Regions from separate parts of the Homo sapiens genome. Here region 1 is linked to region 2. The links are contacts of gene promoters, found by promoter capture Hi-C in blood cells and fetal thymus (Javierre and others, 2016). All regions are on one chromosome and are shown on one strand. Each heading gives the region's core, a stretch centred on a gene start or on the middle of the fragment in contact. The rest is flanking DNA. Distances are from core to core; before and after follow the strand shown.

Region 1 (5,049 bases), core at 230-2,729, 300 kb after region 2:
ATGAGGGTTTATTTTTGAGCTCTTAATTCTATTCCATTTATCTGTAGTCTATCCTCATGCCACTACCACACTATTTTGATTACTGTAGCTTTGTAGGAAGGTTTGGAATCAGGAAGTATGAGTCTTCCATCTTTGTTATTCTTTTTAAAGATTGTTTAAGCTATTCTAGTTCCCTTGCATTTCCATATGAATTTTAAAATCACCTCATCAATTTCTGCAAAAAACCCAGCTGAGATTTTGATAGAGATTGCATTGAATATGTAGATCAATTTGAGGGGTACATCCAGTTTAAAATATTAAGTCCTCTGATCCATGAACATGGGATGCCTCTCCGTTTGCTTAGATCTTCTTTAATTTCTTTCAACAATGTTTTGTAGTTTTCATTGTACAAGTCTTGCACTTCATTTATTAAATTTATTCCTAAGTACTTAGAATTTCTGAAGAAAACAGAATTGTTTTCTTCATTTTGTCATTGGATTGCCCATTGTAGAAATATACTTGATTTTTGTATATTGGTCTTATATCCAGAGAAAATTGTTTATATATATAAATCCGCAAGCTCTGAGAGCTATTTTCTATAAGGTCCTATATCTGATTCCCTCTTTTCCCGAGATGTTCCTTCTGGAACCCTGTGTTATCTTATTCCACCTGGTTCTCTTCAGGCCTGCTGCTGCTCAGCTGTCACCCTGGGACTTGCTTACACCTCTCTTGGGTGGATGTCCTATTTTTGGAACCCTTGTCTTTCTCTTTCTTGGGTTATTCCCTCATTTTGGTAGAACACCTGAGAAAGTATACACAAGAGATCAAATTTTGTGAAAAATTGCATATCTGAAAATGTCTTTATTCTACCATCACACTTGGTTAATAGCTTAGTAGGGAATATAATCTAGGTTTGGAAATCACTTCCTCTTACAGTTTTTTGTTTGTTTGTTTGTTTGTTTGAGGCAGGGTCTCATTCTATTACCCAGCCTGGAGTACAGTGGTGCAACCGTAGCTTACTGAAGCTTTGGTCTCTCAGACTCAAGCCATCCTCCCACCTCAGCCTCCCAAATAGCTGGGACTACAGGAAGGCACCACCAAACCTGGTTAATTTTAAAATTTCTTTTATAGAGATGAGATATCATTATGTTGCCCAGGATGGTCTCAAAATTTTTTTTATTTTATTTTTATTTTTTGAGATGGGGTCTTGCTGGGCATGGTGGCTCATGCCTGTAATCCCAGCACTTTGAGAGGCTAAGGTGGGTGGATCACTTGAGGCCAAGAGTTCAAGACCAGCTTGGCCAACATGGTGAAACCTCATCTCTACTAAAAATACAAAAATTAGCAGGGTTGAGTGGTGCACACCTGTAGTCCTAGCTACTCGGGAGGCTGAGGCAGGAGAATCGTTTGAACCCAGGAGGTGGGGGTTGCAGTGAGCCGAGATTGCGCCATTGCACTCCAGCCTGGGTGACAGAGTGAGGCTTCATCTCAAAAAAAAAAAAAAAAAAAAAAGAGATGAGGTCTCACTCTGTCACCCAGGCTGGAGTGCAGTGGCATGATCACAGCTCATTGCAGCCTCGACCATCCCAGGCCTAGGTGATCCTCCCACCTCTGCCTCCCAAGTAGCTGGGATTACAGGCCTTTGCCACCATGCCCAGCTAATTTTTGTATTTTTTATAGAGATGGGGTTTTGCCATGTTGGCCAGGCTGGTCTCAAACTCCTGGCCTCAAGTGATCTGCCCACCTCGGTCTTCCAAAGTGCTGGGATTACAGGCATGAGCCACCATGACCAGTCAGGGAAGTTTTATATCCTTTCTTTGTTAATTTTCTCTCTTTCATTTTCTCTATTTTCTCTTTCTGAAACTCCTTTTTTTTTTGTAATGTTAGACCCTCCGAATTTATCTTCGAATTTTTTTACCTCTCTTCTCTTATTGTTCTTTCTTTATAATTTTGTTTGCTTTCTGAAAATTGTCCTTAAGCTTGTCTTCCAACTTTTCTATCAACTTGTTTCCTGCTATCATAATTTTAACTTTCCAAAGCTCTTTCCTCATGGTTGGGTTTTCTTTGTTTCTAATATGCCCTTCCTGTTTCATGTGAGTAATATCATTTCCTGTGTCTCTGAGAATATTAATAGTTTCAAGGCATTTTTCTTTGTCCATGTGCATTGTCTCTGGACCCTCCATTCCTTTTTGTTTTGTTTGTTTTGATCTCTGTCTTCCATATTAGATTCTGTCCTCAAATCTATGGTGATCCTTTGTTTTACGTTCATACGTAACAATGAGTCCCTGAAGAGTTGCTTAAACACTGAGGAGTTGGGGAGGGATAAGGCTTATCAACTAGTGTATCTTACTGTGAGATAACTGGGCTGAGACCATCTATTTCAATGGGGGGAACTCTTGGATTTCAGTACCTATAAATCTATTTTCTGGGGTCATGATATTTCTCCAGAGAAGAATCTTCCAGTCTCCTGCCTGGAGAGGGCACACATAGGGTAGAGAAAATTCCAGGAATACAGTGGCACAAAGAGGGAGGAGGTGGTGCTGAACATTCAGTTTATAAACTCTCCCGTAATCTTTCTTTAAAATACAGAACATTTTCCACTCCCCTGTGCCTGCCTGCTTTTTTTTTTTTTTTTTTTTTTTTTTTTTTTTTTTTTTTTTTTTTGAGACAAGGTCTTGCTCTGTCGCCCAGGCTGGAGTACAGTGGCGCAATCTCAGCTCACTGCAACCTCCGCCCCTGCTGAATTCAAGAGATTCTCCTGCCTCAGCCTCCCAAGTAACTTGGATTATGGGCATGTGCCACCATGCCCGGCTAATTTTTGCATTTTTAGTAGAAACAGGGTTGCACTATGTTGCCCAGGCTGGCCTCGAACCCCTGTACTCAAGCGATCCACCTGACTCGGCCGGCCAAAGTGCTGGGATTACAGGCATGATCCACTGTGCCTGGCCTGTGCCTGCTTTTCTGATTCAATATCTCCATAGGATAAAACTCCAGTTTCCTGTCAGAGAAGAAAGAGCCACCTGGATGTGGGTGATGGGCAGGTGGGCCTGGGGCTCTAGGCTTTCAACTCCGCTTCCTGTTTTCAGCCCCACCTTCGCCCTCGCTTTTGCAGTAATAGGTGCCTCCAGTTCCTGAGCTTCACAGTTCAGCTTTATCAGCTCTGCTTCCAAAACTGTGTTAACATTCCTTATCTCTCCTGTTGCTGCTCTCACTCTCTTAGTCCTTATTGCTTTATAAATCTTTTCTTTCTTTCCCCTTTTTTTAGTGGAGTTTTGAGCGACAACAGTGCTAACTACAGGTGCTCTCAATTCAGCATGTTTAACTGGCTGATCCTGAATTGGCTTTGCAGGGACAGAATAGCAGGGTGAGGGAAAGCCTGGGCTTTAGAGCCAGACACATACATGGTTGAGTTCCGGCTCCACTTCTTCACATCCCTGTGTGTCCTCGGGCAAGATAATTTCAGGTTTCTCATCTGTAAAATGAGAATATCACCTCCGAACTCGTAGGGGTGTTGTAAGCATTAACTCTGATAATGCAGGCATTTTTGCCTAGCCTTATCTGAATGCAAGGCCGTGCTCTGAACCATCCAAGCAGCCTGCCTCTTTTGAGAACAGCGTGACTCAGAAAGGGGCTTCTCTTTTCAGCCTGGATTTCAGGATAAAGAAATGCATGGAATAGAGCCGCAGCAACCTCAGGTGACTCATTCTGTGAGTGAGAGAGAATTTTTTTTTTTTTTTTTAGAGACAGGGTATCACTCTGTTGCCCAAGCTGGGGTACAGTGATATAATCATGGCTCACTGTAGCCTCAACCTCCTGGGCTCAAGGGATCTTCCTACCTCAGTCTCCCAAGCAGCTGGGACTACATGTATGTGCCGTCACACCTGGCTAATATTTTATTTTATTTTATTTTTTGTAGAGACGAGGTCTTGCTATGTTGACCAGGCTGGTCTTGAACTCCTGGCCTTAAATGATCCTACTGCCTTGGCTTCCCAAAGTGCTGGGATTACAGGTATGAGCCACTTTGCCTGGCTGAGAGATAAATCTTGATGGTCGTAAGACACTAAGATTCCGAGACTGTTACGGCAGCATCATTTAATGACAGTTAATTAATACAGCAGCAGTTTAAGGTGGTCCAAGTACTCCAAGATGTTGGGTGAGAGAAGCTCATGCCAGGTAAAGTCACTAACTAGGTGAGACAGCCAGGAAGAGTTTGGGATTCACAACGGCAGCACCTACGACAGAGATACTGCCCTTCATCAAACCACTGGGGCAAGATGATTCATTGAAATGTTACCCTGTGCTCATTTGGTTTACATTTGCTCCTCCCCTGGCTCTTTCAAGCAGAGAGTGAGTCCCTTGGTGTTTCCTTGCCTTGGGTATTTCTGGTGGTCAGAGCATAAAAGCTATCGGAAGTTGGTGGGTCTTTCTGTCTTTTGCAATAATCTTGACCTAAATTTTTTTTTAAATTTCTTAATTATTTTTAGAGACAGGGTCTCACTCTGCCACCCAGGCTGGAGTGCAATGGTGTGATCATAGCTCACTGAAGCCTCCAACTCCTGAGCTCAGGTGATCCTCCCGCCTAAGCCTCCAGAGTAGCTGAGACTACAAGTGCTCACCACCATGCCCGGCTAATTTTTCTTTTTTGTAGAGACAGAGATCTCGCTATGTTGCCCAGGCTTGTCTCGAACTCCTGGCCTCAGGTGATCTTCCCTTCTCAGCCTCTCAAAGTATTAGGATTATAGGTGTGAGCCACTGCACCCAGCCTTCGTTGACTCTTTATAGAGACTCTGTAAGGTGTCCTGGAAAGAGAAGAAAGAAAGGGTGGGCCTATGATTTTTTGTTTTTTGAGATAGAGTCTTGCTCCGTCGCCCAGGCTGGAGTATGGTGACATGATCAGGGCTCACTGCAACCTCCATCTCCTGGGCTCGGGTGATCCTTCCACCTCAGCCTCTGGAGTAGCTGGAACTATAGGTGCATGCCACCATGCCTGGCCAATGTTTTGTATTTTTAGTAGAGATGGGGTTTCACCATGTTGCCCAGGCTGGTCTCAAACTCCTAGTGCTGGGATTA
Region 2 (4,874 bases), core at 1,953-4,452:
CTCCAGCCTAGGTGACAGAGTGAGACCTCAAAAAAAAAAAAAAATTTTTTTAAGAAGTTTGGGGCCAGGAGTGATGGCTCATGCCAGTAATCCCAGCACTTTGGGAGGCCGAAGCAGGCGGATCACTTGAAGCCAAGCGTTCGAGACCAGCCTGGCCAACACAGTGAAACCTCATCTCTACAAAAAAATTTAACAATTAGCCAAGCATGGTGGCACATGCCTGTAGTCCCAGCTACTTGGGAGGCTGAGGCGGGAGGATCACTTGAGCCTGGGAGGTTTAGACTGTAGTGAGCCAGGGATCGCGCCACTGCACTCCAGCCTGGGTGACAGAGCAAGCCCTTGTCTCAAAACAAAAAGGAATTCAGGAGCAAACACTCAAATTCCTGCCCCCACATGGCCCTTCAAGGTCATCTGCCTGCATGCCTCACTCCTCCCTTGTCCTCTGATGACTAATACCATCCCCTGGACTCCTGATCTATCCTCACCTTCTATTCCTGGAAGCAGGAGCGTGTTCCCTGTGATATTCCCTCATTTTCACCCTCTCCCTCTTCAAGGGTTACTTTCCCATAGCTTCTAACTCTGCTCAAGCCTCTGTGTTTAGGAAACCTTCCCTCAGATCTGTGTTTCCGACTAGTTGCTGCTTTAGCTTCTTCCCTCCCTACATTTCGTGACTCTGCTTCCTCTTCATTTTTAGTCTTTGGGCCTGACCACCACCAGCAAAAATCCTGTAGCAGAGGTCACCAAGAGTTTCCCAATTGCCAGTCTTATGAATGAACTCAATTCCTCATCTGAATGATTTTTTTTTTTGAGATGCAGTCTTGCTGTTGCCCAGGCTGGAGTGCAGTGGCACGATCTCAGCTCACTACAACCTCCGCCTCCCGGGTTCAAGCAATTCTCCTGCCTCAGCCTCCTGAGTAGCTGGGATTACAGGTGTGCGCCACCATGCCTGGCTAATTTTTGTATTTTTAGTAGAGACGGGGTTTCACCATGTTGGTCAGGATGGTCCCGAACTCCTGACCTCATGATCCGCCCAACTCGGCCTCCCAAAGTGCTGGGATTACAGGCGTAAGCCACTGCACCTGGCCTTCAATTCTTCTCTCAATGATTTTATTGGAACTCTAGACAGCTACTAACTCTTTTTTTCTTGAGAAGTTCTCTTCTCTTGGCTTCAGAAACATTGACCTTTTCTGAGATTCCTCTTACCTCAGAGGCTGTTCTTTCTTAGTATTCTTTGGGGAGGGGGGGTGCATCTTCCTGTACTCATCCCTTAAATGTGTTCCCTGAGGTTCCGTCCTCACTATATTCTCCTCACTCCTTATATACCACACATTCACTAGGTGACTTTAATCACTCTACGCATTTCGACCGCCCTCTATATCCTTAATCGCTCCCTAAATCTATTTCTGATAAAGTATAACTGACCTCCTCCTCTGATAGCCCTCTGTAAACCACGAGACATTCTACAGCATTTATCTCTGTGCATATGTGCCTCCCTCTGTTAGACTAGAAGGGCAGGCCTAGCGCTTTCTCTCTTTCTAGTATCCAGGACAATACCTGGTAGATAACAGGAGCTCCACAAATGTTTAATAAATAAATAAAAGTTGACATACTCAGCATTTATATTTTAAGTTACCTTGTTTTCCTTTACAGAAAGTCTGAGAGGTAATTTCAGATGAAGAATTTCATTCTTTTTCAGGCTTTCATAGCCAGCAACAAAGACTCCTGGAAAAAGAAGCAGAGGTAGCTGTCACAAATTGTTAGAAAGATTGCAGACCATGCAATCCCCCGAAGTAAGGATACATTCCTTCACTGTGCAGCCTTGTATGGAGGAATTGAGTACCTGGTTGTGTCTTTTTCAGACAAGGTCTCGCTGTGTCAGCCAGGCTGGAGTGCAGTGGTCCGATCACAGCTCACTGCAGCCTCAACCTGCCAGGCTCAAGTGATCCTCCCACCACAGCCTTCAGAGTAGCTGGGATTATAGGCGTGAGCCACCATGCTCGGCTAATTTTTGTATTTTTTGTAGAGACAGGGTTTCCTTGCTTAGGTTAGTCTCAAATTCCTGGGATCAAGCAATCTGCCCGCTGCCTCAGCCTCCTGAAGTGCCCAGCCTGAAGACTTTTTTTGTTAGCCACGCTGGAATACAGTGTCGTGATCTCAGCTCACTGCAACCTCCACCTCCTGGGTTCAAGTGATTCTCCTGCCTCAGCCTCCCCAGTAGCTGCTGGTACACAGGTGTGCACCACCTCGTCCGGCTAATTTTTGTATTTTCAGTAGAGACGGGGTTTCACCATGTTGGCCAGACTGGTCTCGAACTCCTGACCTCAGGTGATCCGCCTGCCTCGGCCTCCCAAAGTGCTGGGATTACAGGCGTGAACCACTGCTCCCGGTCAGAGATCTTAATAAGAGGAATATTAGTGCTGATGGGGCATCAAATTGCTACAAGTGACTCTCAGGTGCCCAGAAGAGTGGGTTGGGTCCCTCTAGGCTTAGCTCCTGAAACCCAGCTCAGGAGTGAGATTCCCTCTCCTTCAGGGCTAGAAAGGTATACCACCTTTGTCATCAATCCATTCAAGGACTCGAGTGGCTCCTGACAGGTCGAATGCATAGAAATCCTGGTACCTGCACAAAAGGGACACAGAATCACACGATGCACAGCACTTCACAGCTCAAAGAACTCCAAGATGGCAGCCGCATGGTTCAGTGGCCCAAACTCTGGAGTCAGGCAGACGTGGGACTGAGTTTACTTCCCATTTTACTCCCTGTTTCTGGGACCAGGCCAGTCCCTTGATGTCCCTGAGCCTCGGTCCTCATGTGTGGACGTCCCAGGGTACCCAGATTTCCCAAGGTTGACGTGAGGAATCAATGAGATCATCTGTGTTCTGAGCTGAACTCAGAGGCTGGCGCAAACTAACTGGGCACTGCGTCTTCACAAGCGCGGCTCTTACTAGTAATCTCACAACGCGCGCACGCAGGAAGGAGCCATTTCCTAGAGATGGGGGCCTAGGCCCAGGCGGAGTCCTCCACGGTGGCGAGCCCCGAGGCCACAGCTGGCCCACTCTGCACCAGGATCCCCAACGTGCCTCCACCCACACCCATCCGCCCGCCAGGCAAGCTCCAGGCCCAGCTCCCATGTCCCAGCCCCGTACGATTTACAAGCGCAAGGATTCCACCAGCCAGTCGTCCCCAGGATCCATGGCAACGACCGCTTCCGGCGTCTCACTTCCGCCTGCGAGCCTTCGGGGGCCGCGCGGCTCTCGCGAGATGTGGGCAGGGCCTCCCGTTAGGGGCGGGGTTAACAGGCTGAGCTGCGGCCCGGCATGGGTGGGTTACGGGTTTTCTCCGCGAAAGCTCCGGGAAAAGTGACCTGAAATCGGGACTTTCCCGCTGTCAGCTCCAAGCAGGACCTGAGGACCAAATGATCGCCCGTTTTAGGGCCAGGTGTTTGCAGCCCAAGAGAGGGGCAATGAATGCTCCAAGGCCAGAAATAATACAGGACCGCCCGGTTAAATTCGAATTTCAGAAAAACGGTGAATAATTTCTTTCTTACGAGTATGTTCATGCAATATTTGGTACATTTTATTAGATAAAATTATTGTTTATCTGAAATTCGAATTTAACTGGGTGTCCAGTATTTTTATTTGCTAACGCTGGCAACCCTTCTGACGGCCAGAGAAGAGAGGAAGCGGCCGGCAGGGTCTGGATCCCAACTCGGCGCTCCCCTCCAAGTCCGGCGGGGGTATTGAGTAAAGCCCGGCAGTGTAGTGTCTGCAGCCCCCTTTTACTAGCGAGGAAACTAGTGACACTTGCCTGCGCCAGTAGGTGGCAGAGATGAGAGTAGAACCCCGCGCCTGGCACGAAGCCTGGCATGCAACAGGCGTTATTTGCTTGCTGAATGAATGGGTAGGAGGCCAGAGTCAGTGCCAGGCTGGTGCCATGGCATGGGGTATTCTGGACTTTTTGAGCCAGCCCCATCTCACTGAACACTCTGCCCTCCAGCCCCCTTTTCCTCCCATCCCCTAAAAGACGGGTGAAAGGAGAGGACCAGGCATTGTATGTAAAGAGCAAGGTTTTATTCACCAATTCAACAGGGAAGCAGGAAATACAGCAGGAACATAATCTGTGTCTGCATCAGCGATATTTCTGGTGACCCAGCCAGAAATCACAGTAATGGAGTAACAGAGATTTGAGCTCAGGATTTACATCCAGATGGGGCCATCAACAGGGTCCCATTCAGCACCTTCCCTGGGTGGGCACAATCTAAGCCACGCTGTTGTGTCTGCCCCATTATTGGTGTCATTTCTGCAGTATTTGTACCAGCAGCCTCCTGTACTGAAGAGAAACATACAGAAGAATTGAGCCAGGGAGGGGCTCCTGATAAAGATAGGGGCATCCTGCCATTCCTAAGTGCCAGATGTCTGCAGAGGTGGGCACCAGCAGGCTGTCAGCTGAGGCAGGCCCCAGAGCACCCTGAATTGCCTTGGAGGGGTCGGGGCAGTAGTTTTCTCAGAACACAGCCCCAACCACCCAGGGTGGTCATGACAGTCAAAGAAGATCGTGGAAGAAAATCCAAATACAGTGCTTGGTGCTGGGCTAGTGTCAGCGTCCTCACTCCCCCACCCCAGCTCTGCCCCAGACCTCACTCTGAAGCCCCAGACGTAGGCACTGCTGCTTCTGAGATTCTCTAGTTGGTCTGCATGTGTCAGAGCTTCAAAACCAAGGGCATTAGAGGTGACATTGTTTCCCTTCAGACTCAGCCAGCCCAAGCTCCTAGGCCTTACATCTGAGGTCCTCAGGGGCTGCTGGTTCTGTGCCTCAGGAAGTCAGGGATGTTGGTTGAGGCTGGGTTGGACCTTTTCTAGGGAATGCCTCTCCCT

Evidence for each region. The method cuts DNA at HindIII sites, captures the fragments that hold promoters and counts their contacts. A CHiCAGO score of 5 or more calls a contact.
Region 1: a contact is called between a fragment that was not itself captured here and the fragment with the promoter of WDR73 in region 2, in 6 of 17 cell types (naive CD8 T cells, fetal thymus, naive CD4 T cells and 3 more). The highest score is 6.2, in naive CD8 T cells.

The regions. Positions count from the first base shown.
Region 1 is chr15:84,957,631-84,962,679 of GRCh38, forward strand. It overlaps a transcript of SLC28A1 not described here. Among named protein-coding and RNA genes, the nearest start is that of PDE8A, 22 kb to the right of the region's middle. The HindIII fragment of the contact is 954 bases long and covers 1,003-1,956 here.
Region 2 is chr15:84,651,081-84,655,954 of GRCh38, forward strand. WDR73 (WD repeat domain 73) reads right to left here and starts at 3,203. Exons shown (of 8, transcript NM_032856.5): 1 at 3,154-3,203; 2 at 2,552-2,619; 3 at 1,634-1,722. The coding sequence starts at 3,194. NMB (neuromedin B) reads right to left here. Exons shown (of 3, transcript NM_021077.4): 3 at 4,052-4,329. The coding sequence ends at 4,294. RefSeq lists enhancers at 2,556-3,523, 2,950-3,189. The HindIII fragment of the contact is 10,475 bases long and covers 1-4,874 here.